Regions from separate parts of the Homo sapiens genome. Here regions 1, 2 and 4 are each linked to region 3. Evidence: promoter capture Hi-C in human tissues and cell types (Jung and others, 2019). All regions are on one chromosome and are shown on one strand. The core of a region is centred on a gene start or on the middle of the fragment in contact, and the rest is flanking DNA. Distances in the headings are between cores, read along the strand shown. Region 1 overlaps DNAH3 (dynein axonemal heavy chain 3). Region 2 overlaps DCUN1D3 (defective in cullin neddylation 1 domain containing 3). Region 3 holds the start of POLR3E (RNA polymerase III subunit E). Region 4 overlaps LDAF1 (lipid droplet assembly factor 1).

Region 1 (2,700 bases), core at 196-2,695, 1.2 Mb before region 3:
TGTCCAACTCCTGACCTCAGGTGATCCACCCACCTCAGCCTCCCAAGGTGCTGGGATTACAGGCATGAGCCACCACGCCCAGGCTCTCATTGCTGATTTTTTTGGTTCAGTTGATAAAATTCTTCTAAATGATTTCAGTTCACTTTGGTGCTGCTGTTGCTGGCATAATCTTCCTCAGGGAACCATGAAAAGCAAGTGGTAAAAAGCCTTTCTTCTCAGTGAAGCTATAGGCTCAACAATTTGCCGTCTTTGCTACGAGATCAATTTAAACTCAGGTACATGTGATTATCTATTATCTTCTGAACTTCTTTATGAAGTTTCTGGCTATTCATCCAGCTCTAAGACTGACTTCCTCACTAGTTTCTATGTTAATTTATTTTTTTAGCTCATAAACACGCTTGTACTTAAAGCAATACCTTAATTTGTTGAGCAATTACTGTGTGCCAAGCAGCAGTCTAAGCACTTTCTTTAGCTAACAACTCCAGGAGGTAGGTATTGTTATGATGATTCCCATTTGCATGTAGAACACAGGGTCAGACTAGGCGGTGGCTCATGCCTGTAATCGCAACACTTTGGGAGGCTGAGGAAGGAGGAATTCTTAAAGCCAGGAGTTCAAGCCCAGCCTAAGCAACCTAGAGAGACCCTGTTTCTACAAAAAATGTAAAAATTAGTCAGACATGGTGGCATGCACCTATAGTCCCAGCTACTTGGGAGGCTGAGGAGAGAGCCCAGGAGTTTGAGGCTGCAGTGAACTCTAATCATGCCACTGCACCACACCCTGGGTGACAGAGCAAAAGCTTGTCTAAAACAAGAAAGCAAGCAAGAAAGCAAGAAAGAAACAGGGTCACAGAGGAAGGAAGGAAGGAAGGAAGGAAGGACAAACAGGGTCAAAGAGAAAGAAAGAAGAAAAGAAAGGAAGAAAGAAAGAAGGAAAGAAAGGAAGGAAGGAAGGAAGGAAGAAAGAAAAGAAAGAGAGATGAGAGAGAAGGAAGGAAGGAAGGAAGGAAGGAAAGAAAGAAAAAGAAAGGAAGGAAGGAAAGAAAGAAAGGCCGGACGTGGTGGCTCTTGCCTGTAATCCCAGCACTTTGGGAGGCTGAGGCAGGTGGATCACCTGAGGTCGGGAGTTCGAGACCAGCCTGACCAACATGGAGAAACCCTGTCTCTACTAAAAATACAAAAAAAAATTAGCCAGGCATGGTGGCACATGCCTGTAATCCCAGCTACTAGGGAGGCTGAGGCAGGAGAAATGTTTGAACCTGGGAGGCAGAGGTTGCGGTGAGCCAAGATCGCGCCATTGCACTCCAGCCTGGGCAACAAGAGTGAAACTCCATCTCAAAAAAAAAAAAAAAAAAAGGGGGAGAGAAAGAAAGGAAGAGAGAAAGAAAGAAAAGAAAACAGTCACAGAGGGATTAATTTCTCTCAAATTATACTATTAATTAGTAACAGAACAAGAACCAGAATTCAGATCCCATTCTATAAGTTATTACTTTATATGGTTCCACTTAGTTAGAAAATTACTTCTTTTTTCTCAATGTCCTGACTGCTGACTGGTACTTCCAATGCTTTAGAAAATTGAATTCAGTTCAAAGAAAAGAATACAGCTATTTCTTTTCACTGATGGGCTCTGTCCTACGTTGACTTCACCCCCTCAATTCCTTTTTAAAATACAAGCAAAACTAAGGATTTGAAAAACAAGTAGGTTCTCCAAGCCACAGGGCTCCCTTAAGACTGAACACGTTCAAAGCTAGAGATCCTCCCAAAGCAAAATACATGAGCTACTAATAAGTTCGGCCAATCAAAGTTAAGTAAGCATATCTGCCTCTAATTTTTCTAATACAAAACTCAGATGGGGGCAGCTCATCATTTCATTAGCCTGGCCTTTCAGTGAACTCCGGTGTCTTCATCCTCTCACCAGGATGTGTACCTTCTTGAAGGGCTCACTAAAAAAACCAGAGTCTTCCACCTCCAGGCTCACTGCAATTGATGCATAGATAAAACAAATGTCGGATAGCCATCCAATGGATTAGTATGCCGCCATAAAAAGGAAGCACTCACTACTGATACAAGCTTCAGTGTGGATGAAGACTGACAATATTGTTCATTGAAAGACACCAGACACAAAAGATCATATATTGCATGATTCCATTTCTATAAAATGTCCAGAATATGCAAATCCATAGAGACAGAAAATCACTTAGTGGTTGGGAGGAAATGGGGGAAGGTGAGAATGCGGAGTGACTGCTAATGGGTTTCTTTTTGGGGTAATGATAATACTCTTGAATTAGACAGTGGTAAGGATTAAACAAACTTGTGAATATATTAAAAACTTGCATTGTGTACTTTCAAAGGGTGAATTTTATGGAATGTGGATATCTCACTTTTTTTTAAAATGAAAGAATGAAAAAAGGTGGCTTCTGTCTCATCTGGACTCCTACAATTTTTTTTTTTTTGAGACGGAGTTTCGCAAATTTAATTATTGATAAATATACCTGAGAGATCACTGCTTGCCAGCCCTGTACTGGCACTGAGTTACATAAAGGAATAAGACCGTCCGGGCGTGGTGGCTTACACCTGTAATCCCAGAACTTTGGGGTGCCGATGTGGGTGGATTGCTTGAGCTTAGGAGTTTGAGACCAGTCTGGACAACATGGTGAAACTCCGTCTCTATCAAAAAATACAAAAAATTAGCTGGGTGTGGTG
Region 2 (2,700 bases), core at 149-2,648, 1.4 Mb before region 3:
CCTTACTTCATAGGGTTTTGGTGAGGACTAAACAAATTACTATTCTGCTTCTAACAGTGCCTGGCACACGGTTGGCAGCTGATAATGGTTCATTTATTCATTCATTCATCTTCCCAAAGCTAAACTCAAGTCTCCTGCTCCCTGCCCTGTTTCCCGCTCTGCAATAGCGATTAAGCTGCGGATTCTTTCTCCTTCCAGAGGAGGAGGCTTCCTGTTTCCCTTCTGATTCTCTATGGGTTGTTTGTTTGGGGTATATTTTTAGAGATTGCCAAGGGAGACTTCTGGAGCCAAGGATTCTGAACCTGAGTAATTCTACCACCAGAGATCAAAATTCTATTATTAAAAAACAAAAATTATGTATGTATTTTTAACATCTATACAACCCTTTCAGCTTACAGCATGGTCTCGCATTGATCGTCTTCTCAGGGACTGTAGTATCTGCTGAAGAGGTGAGGCCTCTGAGGTCTGGAGGGTAACCTTCCTGGGGTGGGGGGCATGCAAACTACAAATTGTATGGCTAGGCCTCACAGTCAGTTCTTATTCACAACCCCGTGCTCTACAAACCACATTCTACAGGGACATATGACCAGAACAATATGCACAGCTACTGCTTAGTAACTGAGGCCAACTGACCTTATTATACACAGGCCTGGCTGAGGGCGGGCAACATGCTAAGTACCAGAAAGGGCAAGTGGCTTCATGGAGGGAGAGAGGCGTATCCCCTCCCCAGAGGCACTTACTATATTGGTACTCACAGTGCAAGTGGCTTCATGGAGGGAGAGAGGCGTATCCCCTCCCCAGAGGCACTTACCATATTGGTACTCACAGTGCAAGTGGCTTCATGGAGGGAGAGAGGCGTATCCCCTCCCCAGAGGCACTTACCATATTGGTACTCACAGTGCAAGTGGCTTCATGGAGGGAGAGAGGTGTATCCCCTCCCCAGAGGCACTTACTATATTGGTACTCACAGTGCCTGGCACATGCTGGGCATACAATAAATATCAAGTGAGTGAACTGACATGTAAAGGAGTAAAAGAAAAGAAAGGTCCAAGACAGCAGTGGGGCCGAGCAGCAACTTGGCCACCTGGCTCACCCTGGCTTATTTCTCATTTAAGGCAAAGATGAGCAGTGCCCAGTTACTCAGAAGCTGCCAAATAATGCTATGATAGGCCTGAAATTTGACCTATGAATTAGGCAAAGGCGTTATTCTGCAAAAAAAAAAAGAAAAAGAAAAAGAAAAAAAAAACCATAGCGTACACATTAGAACCAGACATGAATCTCTATCAAAATCCAAGTGCCTGGGCCTTCCCTGCTGAGATTCCTATTCAGTAGGTCTGCTGCAGAGCCAGAGAGATATATTTTAAACCCTTAGAGTCCAGAGGGGCTTCTCAGCATCATAACCACAACTTGGCTCAAAAGATTCAAGCTTTAGAGAACCTGATCAGAAAAATAAAAACTTACCCAAAACCCTATGAAGCCAACCCAGTCCTATCCTAGCTGGGCACCACTGCCCAATGCTGTTCCCTTTCCTCCACTGCTCACCTGGTGACATAAAGTGTTTGTGACTAACCTGGTGAATTTGCACATGGTTGCAGCCTGGAACTTCCAAGCCAAGAGCAGCACTCGAAATTCTGTGGGGTCAACACACAGGTCATTGCAAAAGCGCTCCATGCCTTCCTCCAAAATTGCATCTTCCCGCTCATCCTTGTAGCGCCTGAACAGTTCTTCCAATCTTTGCAAGGAAGACTCCTCGGCATTGGACTTGGACTCCCTCCCAGCATCTCCCGAGGACGTTGGCAGCTGGCAGGCCTCAGTGGCAGCCTCGGCCTTCTTGGTCCCGTTGACGAGGATATCTCCACCTGGCTTGCCACAGGGTGGTACCTGCTCCTCACGGTGGCCTGCACCCCTCCTGCTATGTGACTTGTTGCTGGGCTCACGGTCTCCATTTTTGCTGCCCAGGGTCGATGAGGGATTCTTACACTTGGTGACACACTGGCCCATGGTGCTGGTGGCCTGGCCTCTAGAGTGGACCCCTCTGGATTGGATGCCCTCGCTGCCGCTGGCCCATGTACCTCAACATGCCATCAGCCAGAGGAGCCAGCCAACCTGGAAGGAAATTAGAAAGCCATCACCTCTGGGTGGGGGAAATGGGGTATGGACCCTACCTTCTAGGGTGCACACTGGTTCACCGCTCTATTTCCATGAGCCAACAACGAACCATGGGAGAGACCCTGAGTTCATCATCCCCTTCACAGGCCAGCTCCGTAACTTCACCTTGGCGACGCAGAGGCTGGGGCACATATGGAGAACCAATGAGGGAAATTCCTAAAATTCTTAAGGTAACATAGATTTCAAAGAGGCCGATTCATATGTAGAATGCATCAAAGACTGACAGAAATATTCCAGAGGAAATCTGTCTTGCCAACTTGCCATCACATAAGAAAAGTTATTTGGACCTGGGTTAAGCCAGAAGGCACAAAGGAAGGGTTCATCTTCTAATTCCTAATGCCAACATTCTCAGATTTTCTTTTTAAGTAGGATGAGTAGGGAGAAGGGGTGGCCATATTCAGAACAATAGTCTCATAATGCCCTAATGATGAGGTTGTCAAGACTACAAGCAGGGGCCTAAGCCAAGCAGCAAAATGAAATTTGCCTCTGATCTCTCCAGATTCCTTTCTGGGCCTATCCCACACAGTAGGT
Region 3 (2,700 bases), core at 153-2,652:
AGATCTATATGAATAATGTGACAATATTTGTGTTCAAATCCATACACAATAAAAACAAAGCTATCTTCTATGGCTATATCTATATATATCCATATAGATATAAACATATAAATTCACAGCAAAAGATCTAGAAAGATATATAGTGTTTTAGTCCATTTTCTGTTGCTTATAACAGAATACCTGAAACTGGGTAATTTGTAAAGAAAAGGAAGTTATTTCTTACAGTTATGGAGTCTGAGAAGTCCAAGGTCAAGAGTGTGCATCTGGTGAGGGCCTTCTTGCTGGTGGGGGACACCTGCAGAGTTCCCAGGCAGTACAAGCCATCATATGGAGGGGGTGCTGAGCTGCTCCCTTGCTAGCTAAGGTCTCTCTCCCTCTTCTTATAAAGCCATCAGTCCCCCTCCCAAGATAACCCATTAATCCATTAACCCATTAATCCATGAATCCATGAAGAGATTAATCCATTCATAAGGGCTCCACCCTCATGATCTAATCACCTCTTAAAGGGCCCACCACACAATACTGCCACATTGGGGATTAAATTTCCAACACATGAAATTTGGGGGACACATTCAAACCATAGTTCATATTAAACAGATAATAATGGTTAGTTACCTCGGCGGAGGGGCCTAGGATGCGAGTCAAGGTCAAAGAGCATTTGTACCTTATCTGCAAAGTTTAAATATTTTGCAATAATTCGCGTGTTATTTGTGTAAGTAAAAATTTAAACATAATTTTTCAGAGACAACTGCCCAGACCAGCTCCAGGGTTTGGCCGTCAGATCCCCTGGTGCATGTTTCTGATCAGATCAATTTCTTCTCCCGGAGACACCCAATCCGGGTCGTATGGATTACCTGTGGGTTAACCAGGGGTCTCCGGGTTAACCATCCAACTCAGAGTAAAGTTTCTAAAAATGCGTTTTGCTCTAATACCTATTCGGAACCAACCTGGGTCTAAAGACTGGAGCAAGTGTTTATTTTCCAAAACACGGCTTTTTAAAATAATTCTATAGGGATCACCTTGAACACACGTTAAGCAAAAAAAAAACCTCAGCGAAAACGCCTCGCAATGTCCAGATTAAATGCAAAAGCAAAAGCATTAAGTAGCTTTCTGGCATAAACATATTGCAGCTGGGTAGCGTGGCCGAGCGGTCTAAGGCGCTGGATTAAGGCTCCAGTCTCTTCGGGGGCGTGGGTTCGAATCCCACCGCTGCCAGGGTTGCTGTCTTTTTGTCCCCGCTGCATACACTCCTGGCTCAGTTTTGCGCGTGCCATCAGCGCCCCCTGCTGCAGGGCGGGGCTCACGGCCTGCATGAATGGCGCGGCGGAGGGGGCGGAGCCGCGTGCACCGGGGCGGGGCATTGTGGGTAAGAGGAAACGCTGGGGCCGGCCCGCTCCCCCCCACGTGTCCGCCGGAGTTTCTCCACCAGCAACATGGCCGCCGCCTGAGAGGAGAGCCGGGCCGCCGCCGTCTCTGCAGCCCGCGGGTAACTGGGCCGTTGCCGCCGTCCGCGCTCGGCCCCCGCGGAGAGGTGAGTCCCGTCTTGGCAGTGCCCGAGCTGGGGCTTGAGCCGGACCGCACTCACGACGTGGGCCTGGGCTAGATTCCCGAGTAGGCCAAGGAGGCCCGCGCCGCGCTGTGCCTAGCAGCTGGAGGCCTCTCGGGACTCGGGCGGGGAGGAGGGGCAGCCGGCTCCAGGCCGACCCCGGACTCTGACTTCCTTGACCTGACACCTGGGAGTTGGGGAGGCCGCGGCCGACGCTGGCGGCGGTGACTCAGGGTCCAGCCGACCTGCCCTATCCGGGCCTGGGAGGCCTCCTACGGAAGAAACACCTGTCCGCGCGTCGGGTGTAGTGGCGGCTCGCGGCAGGGACTGCGTGGTGGGCGTGAGAAGGGGGGCCTGACCACCCGCGAGGGAGCAGAAACCCATTGGACAGCGAGGCTCGGGATCGGCGGCCCGCCCCGATGGGCAGGGAGGGCACCTGCGCCTGCCGGAGCCCCCACTTCGCAGCTGAACCGGATTAGCCTCTGCCCGGCGAGGCCAGGGATTCCTCATTCATTTATTCAGGCAACCATTCAGTGTTTACCGAGCCAACTCTGTGTTCCGGATACAGCCCTGACCATTCGGTCCGAGGAGGTGTCAGTAAACAAACAAGGTCGTTCCTTTGGGTTAGCTTTAGAATTCCTTGGGCTTGGAGGCGGAAAGAAGAGATCTTAGCGATCTCCACAGTTTCCTCATCTGTGAAATAGAGATAATAGAAATTCCTACCTCATAGGGTTGTGGTGACGGCTCAGTAGAAACCGGGTGACGCTCCTGCTTGCAGCGTTTGACTTGTGGCTTAGCGTCATTACCCGCTTACGTTGGCAGAAAACATGTTGTCAAGTAATAACAAACCTTCCCAGAGGTTACGTTTATTAGCGTCCTGTCCTTACTCCTTCCCCGCAGGGGTCTGGAGGTCGGTACTTAGTTTCCCTACTTTAGGGATGAAAATAGGGAGGAATACCAAACCCAGACAACTCAGGTGGGTCACAGATGCCAAGCAGCTGTGGTGGGATTTGAACCTGCACAGTTTTGTTCTCGGGTCCAAGCTCTTACCCACTTAACCATACTGCCGTTTATCAGAAAACCGTGCAGTATAGTGGTTAAGAATAAGAATAAGGATCTTTGACATAGCGAGACCCAAGTTTCTGTCCTCATTC
Region 4 (2,700 bases), core at 170-2,669, 1.1 Mb before region 3:
ATTTCTAACAAACTCCTAGATGATCCAAGTAGCTAAGCCTATTTGTGTCTGAGTGGCTTCAACTATGAGAACCTCAGCTGTAAAGTAGGAGGCAGATGGTATGTACCTTACATCAATGCACCTTTATGCCGAAGAGGTCTTCTCAAGAGTGTGTTTGGCAGGAGAGCCATGACTGGGTCTTTCCTCCTTTCACAAGGCTTGACCTTGGGTGGGGACCTCAGACTTGCCACCTCTCCACAGCTGCCTAAGATAGCTGCCTGGGTGACTCATGTCTTGGGAGAAGTCTTGTTGTAGTGACTTTTTTTTTTTTTTTGAGACGGAGTTTCGCTCTTGTTATTCTTATTATCATTTTTGAGATGGAGTCTTGCTCTGTCTCCCAGGCTGGCGTGCAATGGTGTGACCTTGGCTCACTGCAACCTCTGCCTCCCAGGCTGGAGTGCAATGGTGCAACCTTGGCTCACTGCAACCTCTGTCTCCCAGGTTCAAGCAATTCTCCTGCCTCAGCCTCCCCAGTAGCTAGGATTACAGGCACACACCACCGTGCCTGGCTAATTTTGTATTTTTAGTAGAGACGGGGGTTTCATCATGTTGGTCAGGCTGGTCTCAAGCTCCCAACCTCAGGTGATCCGCTCGCCTTGGCCTCCCAAAGTGTTGGGATTACAGACATGAGCCACTGCACCCGGCCTGTAGTGACTTGTTAATGCATAAGCCTTCTGGCTTTACGACTTCTGCCTTGTAATTCCCACAGCTTGGGCAGATTCATTCAACCTGGGGTTCCGATGTGTTACTTATCCCTGGCTCTTTGTCCTTTGCCTACAGGTGGTGGCCTTTATGAAGTCTCCAGTGGGTCAGTACTTGGACAGCCATCCGTTTCTGGCCTTCACCTTGCTGGTGTTCATTGTCATGTCGGCCGTTCCTGTTGGATTCTTCCTGCTCATCGTGGTGCTTACCACCCTGGCTGCTCTGCTGGGGGTCATAATATTGGAAGGTAGCCTGTTCCGTCATTCACCCCTTTAGAAAATAATTCAATTGGGAGAAAAATACTTTTGGGGCCATTTAAAAATTTTTTTAAGGGGCGGGGTCTTGTTATGTTGCCCAGGCTGGTCTCAAACTCCTGGGCTCAAGTGATCCTCCCACGTCGGCCTGCCAAAGTGCTGGGATTATGGCCATGGGCTACCATGCCTGGTTGTCTGCCATTCTTGTCAAAATCACATCAAGCAAGGCAACTTATCAGAGTAGGTAAAACATAGACTCTGGAGCCTGCATTCAAATCCCACCTCCACCACTGTGATTTGGGGCAAGTGGTTTACCTCTCTGAGCCTTAAATTCTTAATATGTAAAATGCAGATATAATAATACAATCTCAAAAGGTTGTTGTGAAGATTGAAACTTATGGCTCCATAAAGTCCTTAGCACAATACACAATACATGTCACAGAGTAGCTTCTCAATGAATGCTAGCTATTATTATTAAGCAGAGAGGCCATTCATTCCACAGTGAGTTATTGGGCACCTACTGCATGCCAGATGCCTCGCTAGGTACTGGAGACCACCTTCATCCTTCCTCCTGAAGTTCCACTACCAACAGTCAACTTCTCCCTGTATTCCTAAGTTAAAATTACTGGGAAAGCAAATCTGATTTGCTCACTTTGACTTTTCAAATCAGATCACACACCCCAGGCAAGTGGCCAAAGAGATGGTGGCCAGTGGGTCAGGTGATCACTTCTGGTCCATTCCGTGGCTTCCCAGAGCTAAGAGCACCCAGGGCTGTTTATTTGCCCCAGGGACAAGGCAGTTTACACTTGAAGGAGAAAGTAGGCATGGTCAGTGGATGAGCCAAATACAGCCTGGCAGAGTGGTTTTTGAGTAAATGTTGATAGATAGATGGGTGAATGCATGAATGAATGGATGGAGGAATGAATGAGTACCATAAGAAAGGAAATTTATAGAGAAAGGAGAGAGCCATTACATTTTGGTGGTACCATGCAAAGCTTTACAGCAGACAAGACTTTAAGGATGCATAACAACTTTGCCTCAGGGTGGGCAAGGAAGGGCCTTTTGGACAGGGGAACAGCATGTGCAAAGCCTCTAGAATAGTGGTTCTTGAACCTGAGTGTATTTAAATCTTTTTTTTTTTTCTAGATGGAATCTTACTCTGTCGCCCAGCCTGGAATACAGTGGCATGATCTCAACTCACTGCAACCTCTGCCACCCAGGTTCAAGAAATTCTCCTGCCTCAGCCTCCCAAGTAGTTGGGATTACAGGCATGCCCCACCATGCCCGACTAATTTTTGTATTTTTGGTAGAGATAGGGTTTCGCCATGTTGGCCAGGATGGTCTTGAGCTCCCGACCTCAAGTGATCTGCCCACCTCGGCCTCCCAAAGTGCTGGGATTACAGGTGTGAGCCACTGCACCCAGCTCCAAGTGTGTATAAATCTTACTTTCTTTATCAAAATACAGACTTTGGATCTTTTGAGACCAGGAGTTCAAGACCACTCTGGGCAACATAGCGAGATTCCCTCCATCTCTTTAAAAAAAAAAAAAAAGAGGCCGGACACAGTGGCTCATGCCTGTAATCCCAACACTGGGAGGCTGAGGAGGGCAGATCACTGGAGGTCAGGAGTTCGCGACCAGCCTGGCCAACATGGTGAAACCCCATCTCTACTAAAAATACAAAAAATTAGCCGGGCATGGTGGTGG

The links. Contacts are between HindIII fragments. The study calls those that stand out against the background at their distance.
Region 1: a contact is called between a fragment that was not itself captured here and the fragment with the promoter of POLR3E in region 3, in 2 of the 25 tissues and cell types used here (dorsolateral prefrontal cortex and spleen).
Region 2: a fragment that was not itself captured here is called in contact with the fragment with the promoter of POLR3E in region 3 in 1 of the 25 tissues and cell types used here (dorsolateral prefrontal cortex).
Region 4: a contact is called between a fragment that was not itself captured here and the fragment with the promoter of POLR3E in region 3, in 1 of the 25 tissues and cell types used here (dorsolateral prefrontal cortex).

What each region holds. Positions count from the first base shown.
Region 1 is chr16:21,130,521-21,133,220 of GRCh38, forward strand. All of the region lies in intron 8 of DNAH3 (dynein axonemal heavy chain 3), which reads right to left. Among named protein-coding and RNA genes, the nearest start is that of DNAH3, 19 kb to the right of the region's middle. The HindIII fragment of the contact is 3,729 bases long and covers 1-2,700 here.
Region 2 is chr16:20,860,538-20,863,237 of GRCh38, forward strand. It overlaps DCUN1D3 (defective in cullin neddylation 1 domain containing 3), which reads right to left. Exons shown (of 3, transcript NM_173475.4): 2 at 1,571-2,106. The coding sequence starts at 2,001. Among named protein-coding and RNA genes, the nearest start is that of DCUN1D3, 38 kb to the right of the region's middle. The HindIII fragment of the contact is 4,724 bases long and covers 1-2,700 here.
Region 3 is chr16:22,296,007-22,298,706 of GRCh38, forward strand. It overlaps POLR3E (RNA polymerase III subunit E), which reads left to right and starts at 1,403. Exons shown (of 21, transcript NM_018119.4): 1 at 1,403-1,531. It overlaps TRL-AAG2-4 (tRNA-Leu (anticodon AAG) 2-4), which reads left to right and starts at 1,134; the gene lies at 1,134-1,215. RefSeq lists silencers at 1,024-1,473, 2,484-2,623 and enhancers at 1,147-1,691, 2,134-2,273. The HindIII fragment of the contact is 29,231 bases long and covers 1-2,700 here.
Region 4 is chr16:21,169,618-21,172,317 of GRCh38, forward strand. LDAF1 (lipid droplet assembly factor 1) reads left to right here. Exons shown (of 5, transcript NM_001301771.2): 3 at 820-988. Among named protein-coding and RNA genes, the nearest start is that of LDAF1, 12 kb to the left of the region's middle. The HindIII fragment of the contact is 5,839 bases long and covers 1-2,700 here.